Linked DNA regions of Homo sapiens: region 1 is linked to region 2. The links are contacts of gene promoters, found by promoter capture Hi-C in blood cells and fetal thymus (Javierre and others, 2016). All regions are on one chromosome and are shown on one strand. The core of a region is centred on a gene start or on the middle of the fragment in contact, and the rest is flanking DNA. Distances in the headings are between cores, read along the strand shown.

The links. The method cuts DNA at HindIII sites, captures the fragments that hold promoters and counts their contacts. A CHiCAGO score of 5 or more calls a contact.
Region 1: a contact is called between the fragment with the promoter of CCR5 here and a fragment that was not itself captured in region 2, in 2 of 17 cell types (M0 macrophages and monocytes). The highest score is 7.8, in M0 macrophages.

The regions. Positions count from the first base shown.
Region 1 is chr3:46,367,644-46,372,363 of GRCh38, forward strand. CCR5 (C-C motif chemokine receptor 5) reads left to right here and starts at 3,303. Exons shown (of 2, transcript NM_001394783.1): 1 at 3,303-3,345. It overlaps CCR5AS (CCR5 antisense RNA), which reads right to left. Exons shown (of 4, transcript NR_125406.2): 3 at 3,601-3,774. The HindIII fragment of the contact is 2,671 bases long and covers 2,287-4,720 here.
Region 2 is chr3:46,113,594-46,118,461 of GRCh38, forward strand. No RefSeq gene overlaps it. Among named protein-coding and RNA genes, the nearest start is that of XCR1, 89 kb to the left of the region's middle. The HindIII fragment of the contact is 2,088 bases long and covers 1,941-4,028 here.

The DNA of each region.
Region 1 (4,720 bases), core at 2,053-4,552, 250 kb after region 2:
CACTGCAACCTCCATCTCCTGGGTTCAAGAGATTCTCCCACTTCAGCCTCCTGAGTAGCTGGGACTATAGGGGCGCACCACCACATCCAGCTAATTTTGTGTATTTTTAGTAGAGATGGGGTTTCACCATGCTGGCCAGGTTGGTCTCAAACTCCTGACCTCAAGTTATCCACTCGCCTTGGCTTCCCAAAGTGCTGGGATTATAGGCATGAGCCACCGCACTTGGCCTAGACATTTGTTTTTAAAAATAAAAGATTCATTTGCTCTTTTTACAGCCCGTCTCACTGTTGACTGATATTGACCAGGAGTCAACTCAGGCCCCAGGGATTTTCACAACAGCTGCTGTATGGCAGGGTTTCTGCTCACTGTGCTCATGTAGTTGGCCCTTGCACCCAAAGTGAATAATTAACATTCTCCCCATCCTGTTGACGATGCTCTGAAAATATGGTCCAGAAATGGTGTGAGCAAGGAGACAGCAAAGCAATGCTTGGAACATAGGTGCAGTGACTAGACATGGGGCAGCTGTTTAAAGACAAAAAGGCCCCAAAAAGGAGGGATGGCACGAAACACCCTCCAATATGGGCATGGAGTCTAGAGTGACAAAGTGATCAAAAGTTCATTTCCTATGGGGTGTCCGAATGTACTTAATAATAAAAAGAGAACAAGAGCCATGCAAACTGAGAGGGACAAAGTAGAAAGAGTAGCAGACACCAAGCAACTAAGTCACAGCATGATAAGCTGCTAGCTTGTTGTCATTATTGTATCCAGAACAACATTTCATTTAAATGCTGAAGAATTTCCCATGGGTCCCCACTTTCTTGTGAATCCTTGGGCTGAACCCCCCTGTCCTGAGTGGTTACTAGAACACACCTCTGGACCAGAAACACAAAAGTGGAGTAACGCACACTGCAAAGCTGTGCTTCCTTGTTTCAGCCTGTGAATCCTCACCTTGTTTCCCATCTAGCCTATATTTTTCAAACTAACTTGGCCATAGAATCATGTAGTATTTAGGGTGGAAGCTGCCCCAGGTCTAGCACGTCATTTAACAGATGAGGAAATGGAAGCTTGGGCAGTGGAAGTATCTTGCCGAGGTCACACAGCAAGTCAGCAGCACAGCGTGTGTGACTCCGAGCCTGCTCCGCTAGCCCACATTGCCCTCTGGGGGTGAGTATGTCTTCACATCCTCCAATACCCTAATGACAGACAAACAGAACATGGCAAAGCCTCAGCTCTGCATGGTGAAAGTAAGAACCAGCAATTGCCACAAACAGAAATACAGTGTTGGTCCGGCAGCCTCCGGGGGTTCTGCACAAGTGGATTACCAGTGAATACAAGGCTATCTATCTTTCGAAAAACCAAAGTTGTATTTATGCTATCTATTTTCTATAAAATTTTATATTAATTTATTTGTTACCTATTTTTGAACTCTTTCAAAAGCACACTTTATATTTCCCTGCTTAAACAGTCCCCCGAGGGTGGGTGCCCAAAAGGCTCTACACTTGTTATCATTCCCTCTCCACCACAGGCATATTGAGTAAGTTTGTATTTGGGTTTTTTTAAAACCTCCACTCTACAGTTAAGAAAACTAAGGCACAGAGCTTCAATAATTTGGTCAGAGCCAAGTAGCAGTAATGAAGCTGGAGGTTAAACCCAGCAGCATGACTGCAGTTCTTAATCAATGCCTTTTGAATTGCACATATGGGATGAACTAGAACATTTTCTCGATGATTCGCTGTCCTTGTTATGATTATGTTACTGAGCTCTGTTGTAGCACAGACATATGTCCCTATATGGGGCGGGGGTGGGGGTGTCTTGATCGCTGGGCTATTTCTATACTGTTCTGGCTTTTCCCAAGCAGTCATTTCTTTCTATTCTCCAAGCACCAGCAATTAGCTTTACCTTTTCAGCTTCTAGTTTGCTGAAACTAATCTGCTATAGACAGAGACTCCGGTGAACCAATTTTATTAGGATTTGATCAAATAAACTCTCTCTGACAAAGGACTGCTGAAAGAGTAACTAAGAGTTTGATGTTTACTGAGTGCATAGTATGTGCTAGATGCTGGCCGTGGATGCCTCATAGAATCCTCCCAACAACTCATGAAATGACTACTGTCATTCAGCCCAATACCCAGACGAGAAAGCTGAGGGTAAGACAGGTTTCAAGCTTGGCAGTCTGACTACAGAGGCCACTGGCTTAGCCCCTGGGTTAGTCTGCCTCTGTAGGATTGGGGGCACGTAATTTTGCTGTTTGGGGTCTCATTTGCCTTCTTAGAGATCACAAGCCAAAGCTTTTTATTCTAGAGCCAAGGTCACGGAAGCCCAGAGGGCATCTTGTGGCTCGGGAGTAGCTCTCTGCTGTCTTCTCAGCTCTGCTGACAATACTTGAGATTTTCAGATGTCACCAACCGCCAAGAGAGCTTGATATGACTGTATATAGTATAGTCATAAAGAACCTGAACTTGACCATATACTTATGTCATGTGGAAAATTTCTCATAGCTTCAGATAGATTATATCTGGAGTGAAGAATCCTGCCACCTATGTATCTGGCATAGTGTGAGTCCTCATAAATGCTTACTGGTTTGAAGGGCAACAAAATAGTGAACAGAGTGAAAATCCCCACTAAGATCCTGGGTCCAGAAAAAGATGGGAAACCTGTTTAGCTCACCCGTGAGCCCATAGTTAAAACTCTTTAGACAACAGGTTGTTTCCGTTTACAGAGAACAATAATATTGGGTGGTGAGCATCTGTGTGGGGGTTGGGGTGGGATAGGGGATACGGGGAGAGTGGAGAAAAAGGGGACACAGGGTTAATGTGAAGTCCAGGATCCCCCTCTACATTTAAAGTTGGTTTAAGTTGGCTTTAATTAATAGCAACTCTTAAGATAATCAGAATTTTCTTAACCTTTTAGCCTTACTGTTGAAAAGCCCTGTGATCTTGTACAAATCATTTGCTTCTTGGATAGTAATTTCTTTTACTAAAATGTGGGCTTTTGACTAGATGAATGTAAATGTTCTTCTAGCTCTGATATCCTTTATTCTTTATATTTTCTAACAGATTCTGTGTAGTGGGATGAGCAGAGAACAAAAACAAAATAATCCAGTGAGAAAAGCCCGTAAATAAACCTTCAGACCAGAGATCTATTCTCTAGCTTATTTTAAGCTCAACTTAAAAAGAAGAACTGTTCTCTGATTCTTTTCGCCTTCAATACACTTAATGATTTAACTCCACCCTCCTTCAAAAGAAACAGCATTTCCTACTTTTATACTGTCTATATGATTGATTTGCACAGCTCATCTGGCCAGAAGAGCTGAGACATCCGTTCCCCTACAAGAAACTCTCCCCGGTAAGTAACCTCTCAGCTGCTTGGCCTGTTAGTTAGCTTCTGAGATGAGTAAAAGACTTTACAGGAAACCCATAGAAGACATTTGGCAAACACCAAGTGCTCATACAATTATCTTAAAATATAATCTTTAAGATAAGGAAAGGGTCACAGTTTGGAATGAGTTTCAGACGGTTATAACATCAAAGATACAAAACATGATTGTGAGTGAAAGACTTTAAAGGGAGCAATAGTATTTTAATAACTAACAATCCTTACCTCTCAAAAGAAAGATTTGCAGAGAGATGAGTCTTAGCTGAAATCTTGAAATCTTATCTTCTGCTAAGGAGAACTAAACCCTCTCCAGTGAGATGCCTTCTGAATATGTGCCCACAAGAAGTTGTGTCTAAGTCTGGTTCTCTTTTTTCTTTTTCCTCCAGACAAGAGGGAAGCCTAAAAATGGTCAAAATTAATATTAAATTACAAACGCCAAATAAAATTTTCCTCTAATATATCAGTTTCATGGCACAGTTAGTATATAATTCTTTATGGTTCAAAATTAAAAATGAGCTTTTCTAGGGGCTTCTCTCAGCTGCCTAGTCTAAGGTGCAGGGAGTTTGAGACTCACAGGGTTTAATAAGAGAAAATTCTCAGCTAGAGCAGCTGAACTTAAATAGACTAGGCAAGACAGCTGGTTATAAGACTAAACTACCCAGAATGCATGACATTCATCTGTGGTGGCAGACGAAACATTTTTTATTATATTATTTCTTGGGTATGTATGACAACTCTTAATTGTGGCAACTCAGAAACTACAAACACAAACTTCACAGAAAATGTGAGGATTTTACAATTGGCTGTTGTCATCTATGACCTTCCCTGGGACTTGGGCACCCGGCCATTTCACTCTGACTACATCATGTCACCAAACATCTGATGGTCTTGCCTTTTAATTCTCTTTTCGAGGACTGAGAGGGAGGGTAGCATGGTAGTTAAGAGTGCAGGCTTCCCGCATTCAAAATCGGTTGCTTACTAGCTGTGTGGCTTTGAGCAAGTTACTCACCCTCTCTGTGCTTCAAGGTCCTTGTCTGCAAAATGTGAAAAATATTTCCTGCCTCATAAGGTTGCCCTAAGGATTAAATGAATGAATGGGTATGATGCTTAGAACAGTGATTGGCATCCAGTATGTGCCCTCGAGGCCTCTTAATTATTACTGGCTTGCTCATAGTGCATGTTCTTTGTGGGCTAACTCTAGCGTCAATAAAAATGTTAAGACTGAGTTGCAGCCGGGCATGGTGGCTCATGCCTGTAATCCCAGCATTCTAGGAGGCTGAGGCAGGAGGATCGCTTGAGCCCAGGAGTTCGAGACCAGCCTGGGCAACATAGTGTGATCTTGTAT
Region 2 (4,868 bases), core at 1,735-4,234:
TTTCCTCTCTCTTCTGGGGTCTCTGTTACCAGTCCCTTGACTTGAGTATAGTGAGTCCACCCCTGTTCAGCTGTTTGCGCGGCCATCTCAGTGGTCAGGAGCACTTGATAGGGACCTTCCCAGCTTGGGTGGAGCTTGTCTTCTTTTCAAGTCTTGATCAGCACCAAGTCGCCAGGCTGGAAGTGGTGAACTGCGAATTTAAGAGGTAGAGTTTGAGTCAGAAGTCCTTTTAACCTGAGGGATGACAGGGTGGAGGATGTGGCCAGTATGTAATTTCTTAAGAATTGATCCTTGGTTTCCATAGTAGGGAGATTTGTAGCTCTGCCTAAATATGGGACCCCATGTAATAACTCATAGGGGAACAATCCTAAGTCTTTTCTTGGGGCTGTTGTAATCCTAAGCAGTGTATTGGGAGACATTTAGTCCAAGACATTTTTGTTTCTAAGATTAGTTTGGTGATATGCTTTTTGAGAGTTTGATTCATTCTTTCTACCTTTCCAGAGGAAGGGGGACATTACGAGGTGTGATAATCCCATCTAATTTGTAAACCTTACATAATTCCCCTTAACATCCTTGAGGTAAAGTGGCTCCCATTGTTTGAATCAGTATTTTCCACCAGGCCAAATCTACGCACAATCTGTTTTAATATTATTTTGACCACATTCTTGGTGGTGGCTGTGGGAAGGGGGAAGGCTTCCACCCAGCCAGAAAGGTAATCTGTGATCACCAGTAAATACTTTAGTTTTCCTACTTTGGGCATTTCTGTGAAATCTACTTGAATGCTTTGAAATGGTCTTAGTCTGGGAGGTTTTCCTCCCATGGGCTGTTTTCTAATTACCTTTTTGTTTATCCTTTGACAAATTACACAACTTCCACATACTTGTTTAGTGAGGGTAAAATTCCTGTAGTATTGCATCACGGAGAGCCTGAGGTCCCCAGTGACTCCCTTTGTGTAATATAGACATTAGTTCTCTCATCAGGGTTTACTGATTGTTTCTCTCCCATCAGGAAGTACTCATTTCTTATTTTTAGTTTAAGTGACCCCTAGTCTGTCTAATTCTTCCTTCTCCTCTCTGGTAAACTGGGGCCTTAATACTACCTTAGGAATGTCTGGGATCCAGCTAAATAGTATAATATCTTCCTCCAGGGAGGCTTGCTTAGCAGCTTTATCTGCAAGCCTGTTTCCTGCAGCTTCTATAGTGTTCCCTTTCTGATGACCATTTACATAAACTATGGCTACTTTGCTGGAAGCAGGAGGCTTTTTACAACCTGTTTGGCCAGTTCCCCATGCACCAATTATTTTCCCCTGCTATTTATTAGGGCCTGCTTTGTTCAGATTTTTCTAAAAATGTGTACCACCCCATAAGCATATTTAGAATCAGTATGTATGGTGCCTTTTTGGCCTTTGAGTTTTAGGGCCTGGTTAAGAGCATATAATTCACAAGTTTGGGCCCACCAGCCATTAGGTAATCTACCCTTCTCACATAAGGAGTGTTTATTTTCATTAAGGACAGCATAACCATTATTTTTCTTGCCATCTATCATTGGGATGACCCATCCACAAACAGCCTTGTCCCATCATGTAGTGGAGCTTCCCTGAGGTCTGATTTAACTTTGGTTTGGTATTCTATGATATCTAACAGTTACAGTCTGATATCTCTTTGTTCTCCTCTCCTTTCCATAGGAAACTGGCTGGATTCAGGCAAGCATTTGTGGTTACAACCAAATCATCTTTTTCTAGTAATATGGCGTCATATTTTAGAAACTGAGAATCCGTTAACTATCTCCCGGCTTTTCAATTTGATACATTCCTGACCTGGTATGGAATGCTTACTATTAGGGCCCCACCAAAGGTTAGTTTTCAACTCTTTTCTACCAGCAGGGCTGTGGCAGCTACTGCTTGCACACATTCAGGCCACCCCTGAGAGACAGGATTGAGAAGCTTGGAGACAAAAGCAACAGGTTGCCTCTTCCCTCCCCAGATTTGAGTGAGCACTCCAAGGGCCATGCCCTGATCTACTGTGACGAACAGATGGAATAGTTTCTTTAAAGACAGAAGGGCCAGGGCCGGGGCTGTGATGAGGGCCTGCTTTAGCTCTTTTACTGCCTGAATTTCCTTTGGGGACCATTGCAAGGGATTGGGTTCCTCTTTAGTAACTTGAGATACAGAATCTCTGTCTTTTGAGCATATGAGTTCATCCATAACCTACAATAGCCAGTTAAACCTAAAAATTTTTGGAGGTTTCTCTTTGTCTAAGGCAAAGGCAGAGCCACTATCCTCGATATTTTCTTTGGGTTTATTTTCTACTTCCCTTCACTAATCAGGTCTCCTAAATATTTAACTTCTTTTTTTTACAAATGGCAATTTGTTCTTAGAGACTCGTAATCCCCTTTTTCCTAGGAAATTAAGCAAGTTTAGGGTGGTTTTTGATTCCTCGGGCCTCCTCTCCCCAGAAATTAAAAGATTATTTACATGTTGTAACATCTGGGTTCCCTCGGAAGGTTGGAATTCCTTCAGGACTTTTTCTAAGACTTTTTCAATTAAGTTTGAGGCTTCTGTGAAAACTTGTGGCAGCACAGTTTGGTGGTACTGTTGTTTTCTCCCAGTTATAGGAATTTCCCATTCAAAGGCAAAGAGGTCCCTACTCCTAAAGTCTAGGGGAAATGCCCAGAATGTGTCTTTTGGATCCACCACACTGAACCACTTATGTTTATAGGGTATCTTACTAAGGAGGGTGTAGGGTTTAGGCACCCTAGGGTGGTGGGTCTGGACAATTTGATTTACAGCCCTTAGATTTTGCAACAATTTATATGACCCACCAGATATTTTGACTGGGAGAATTGGAATATTGTATGGTGACCTGCAGGGTTCTAATAGTCCATCTTTTATCATTTTATTACTGCTTGGAGACCTTTTCTCCCTTCAATAGAAATGGGATATTGTTTTCTGCAAACTACTTTTCCTGGTTGTTTCTCATTCCATCCATCGATCTTTTGTAATTGTTTTATAATGTTAGGCCAGCTCTTAGTTACAAAGACCTTCAAAAGGCCTTGCCCTAATGGGTCCTCTGGATAGAATCCAGAGTGTTTTCTCATCTGATCTTTGAGCCTCTGTAGGAATGCAGAGGGAGTTTCTTCCTTTTTCTTGTTGAATCTTGAATGCCTTTGAAACATTTTGTGTCCTAGGAGTGGACTCTTTGATCCCTTTAATTATTAGTTCCCTGAAGTCTTGCATTCAGGCCTGGTGCCTGGGATCATTATTATCCCATTCGGGATTGACATTTGGAAATTTTTGTTTGGCTGGCAAGACTTCTTGCCTGGGAGGGTGTTGCCTCTCCCAGTTGGTTATGGTCACTCTCCTAATTATTCCCCTTTCTTCTCCTGTGAACAGGATATTCATAATAGACATCATTTCGGCCCAGGTGTAAAAGCTGGGTCTAGGAATTGGTCCAGCTGGTCTGCTAAACCGAGGGGATCTTCTAGGAGTGGTTTCATTTCCTTCTTGAAATTCCTAACATCAGTACTTATAAGAGGAGGATTTACAAAGCCAAGCTCTCCCAGTCCCATGGAAACTTCCCTAAGAGGGAACATGCTAGATGCTTGCTGTGCGGAAGGGATAGGGAAGTTCTCAGTAGTCCTCTTACACTGTTGTAATTGTTTTCTTAGATTTGGATAAGGATTTAAAGAAGTAGATGGTTTGGCTCCCCCATGGTTTCTAATCTTCCCCTAATCCCTTTGTTGCCCCTTGATCTTCCTGTCCCCTATTTTGTGAGACGTATGGAGGAGGCAAGCATGATAGGGGGGTCCCAGAGCTTTTACTAGGCTCTTTTTCTCCTTTCTTGAGGGGGAACATGGGAACTAATTCCTTGATCTGGCAGACAGCATAACCTATCTCTTCTTGTGAGGATGGGGTTTTATTATTTACATAGAGAATTAAAGCTCAGCACACCCAACACTTGTCTGAACCAAACTTAGGCCAAAAGACTGAAGGATTATGAATGGAGTCTTTGGGCCAGATAAAACAGCAAAGCTTTATTATCTTTTGCTTTTCCTTGTCCCTGGTTCAAGGGTTGTCCCTCAAAACCTGTAGCATTCTCCCCAAAGGACTATCCATGGGAATGTCAGAGGGAGTCTTTAGCTCCCTCTTTCCTTTGTCCCCTAGGCCTAGAATTTCTGTTTCCCATTTTCAGTCAGTCTCTGTGTCTGAGCGTTTCCCTGTGTACTCAACACTCCCTCCTGGAGGTTTCTTGCACACCCTGAGAATTACTTGCAGGAGAACGGAACTGCGGATTGGGACTCTGCACTCGCTTTGTATCTAGGATACATCTCAGTCACACATGCTCAACCTCCGAAAATGTCCAACCACCAAGGCAGTACTTATAGTCCAATTCTCCTACCTTGGCTTGTGCACCAGGTTACCTGGTTGTTGTGGTGCCTGCTTTTTTCCCTGTGTTGCCTCTGTTGCCTCCTGAATAACAGTCTCAGATTTGTCTAAGGCCTCTATGGGGAGCTGGGACACCCGGACAGAGTGGGCCTCCTAAATTGAGTGGGCTGCATCTCCCCTCTTGGCCAGAGTCCCACTCCATGCAAACACAGAGATCCCGGATGGATTCCCAAGTTTGTAAGAAACATATTCTCCCATCCAAACTCAAGGAAGATACTTGGAGATAGGAAGAACAGCAGAAGCGAGACTTTTAATGGCAGTCTTGCAAGATCAGGTGTCTGGTAGGCAGGCATACCCGGGGCAGTTACAGCAGGTAATTTATCTCCTAGCATGCAAGTCCCTCCCCCAGTTCCTCATTGGTTGAGTACTATGGGGTTACAATCTTTCCAGATATTGCCTAAGTTTCATTATCCCCTTTATAAGG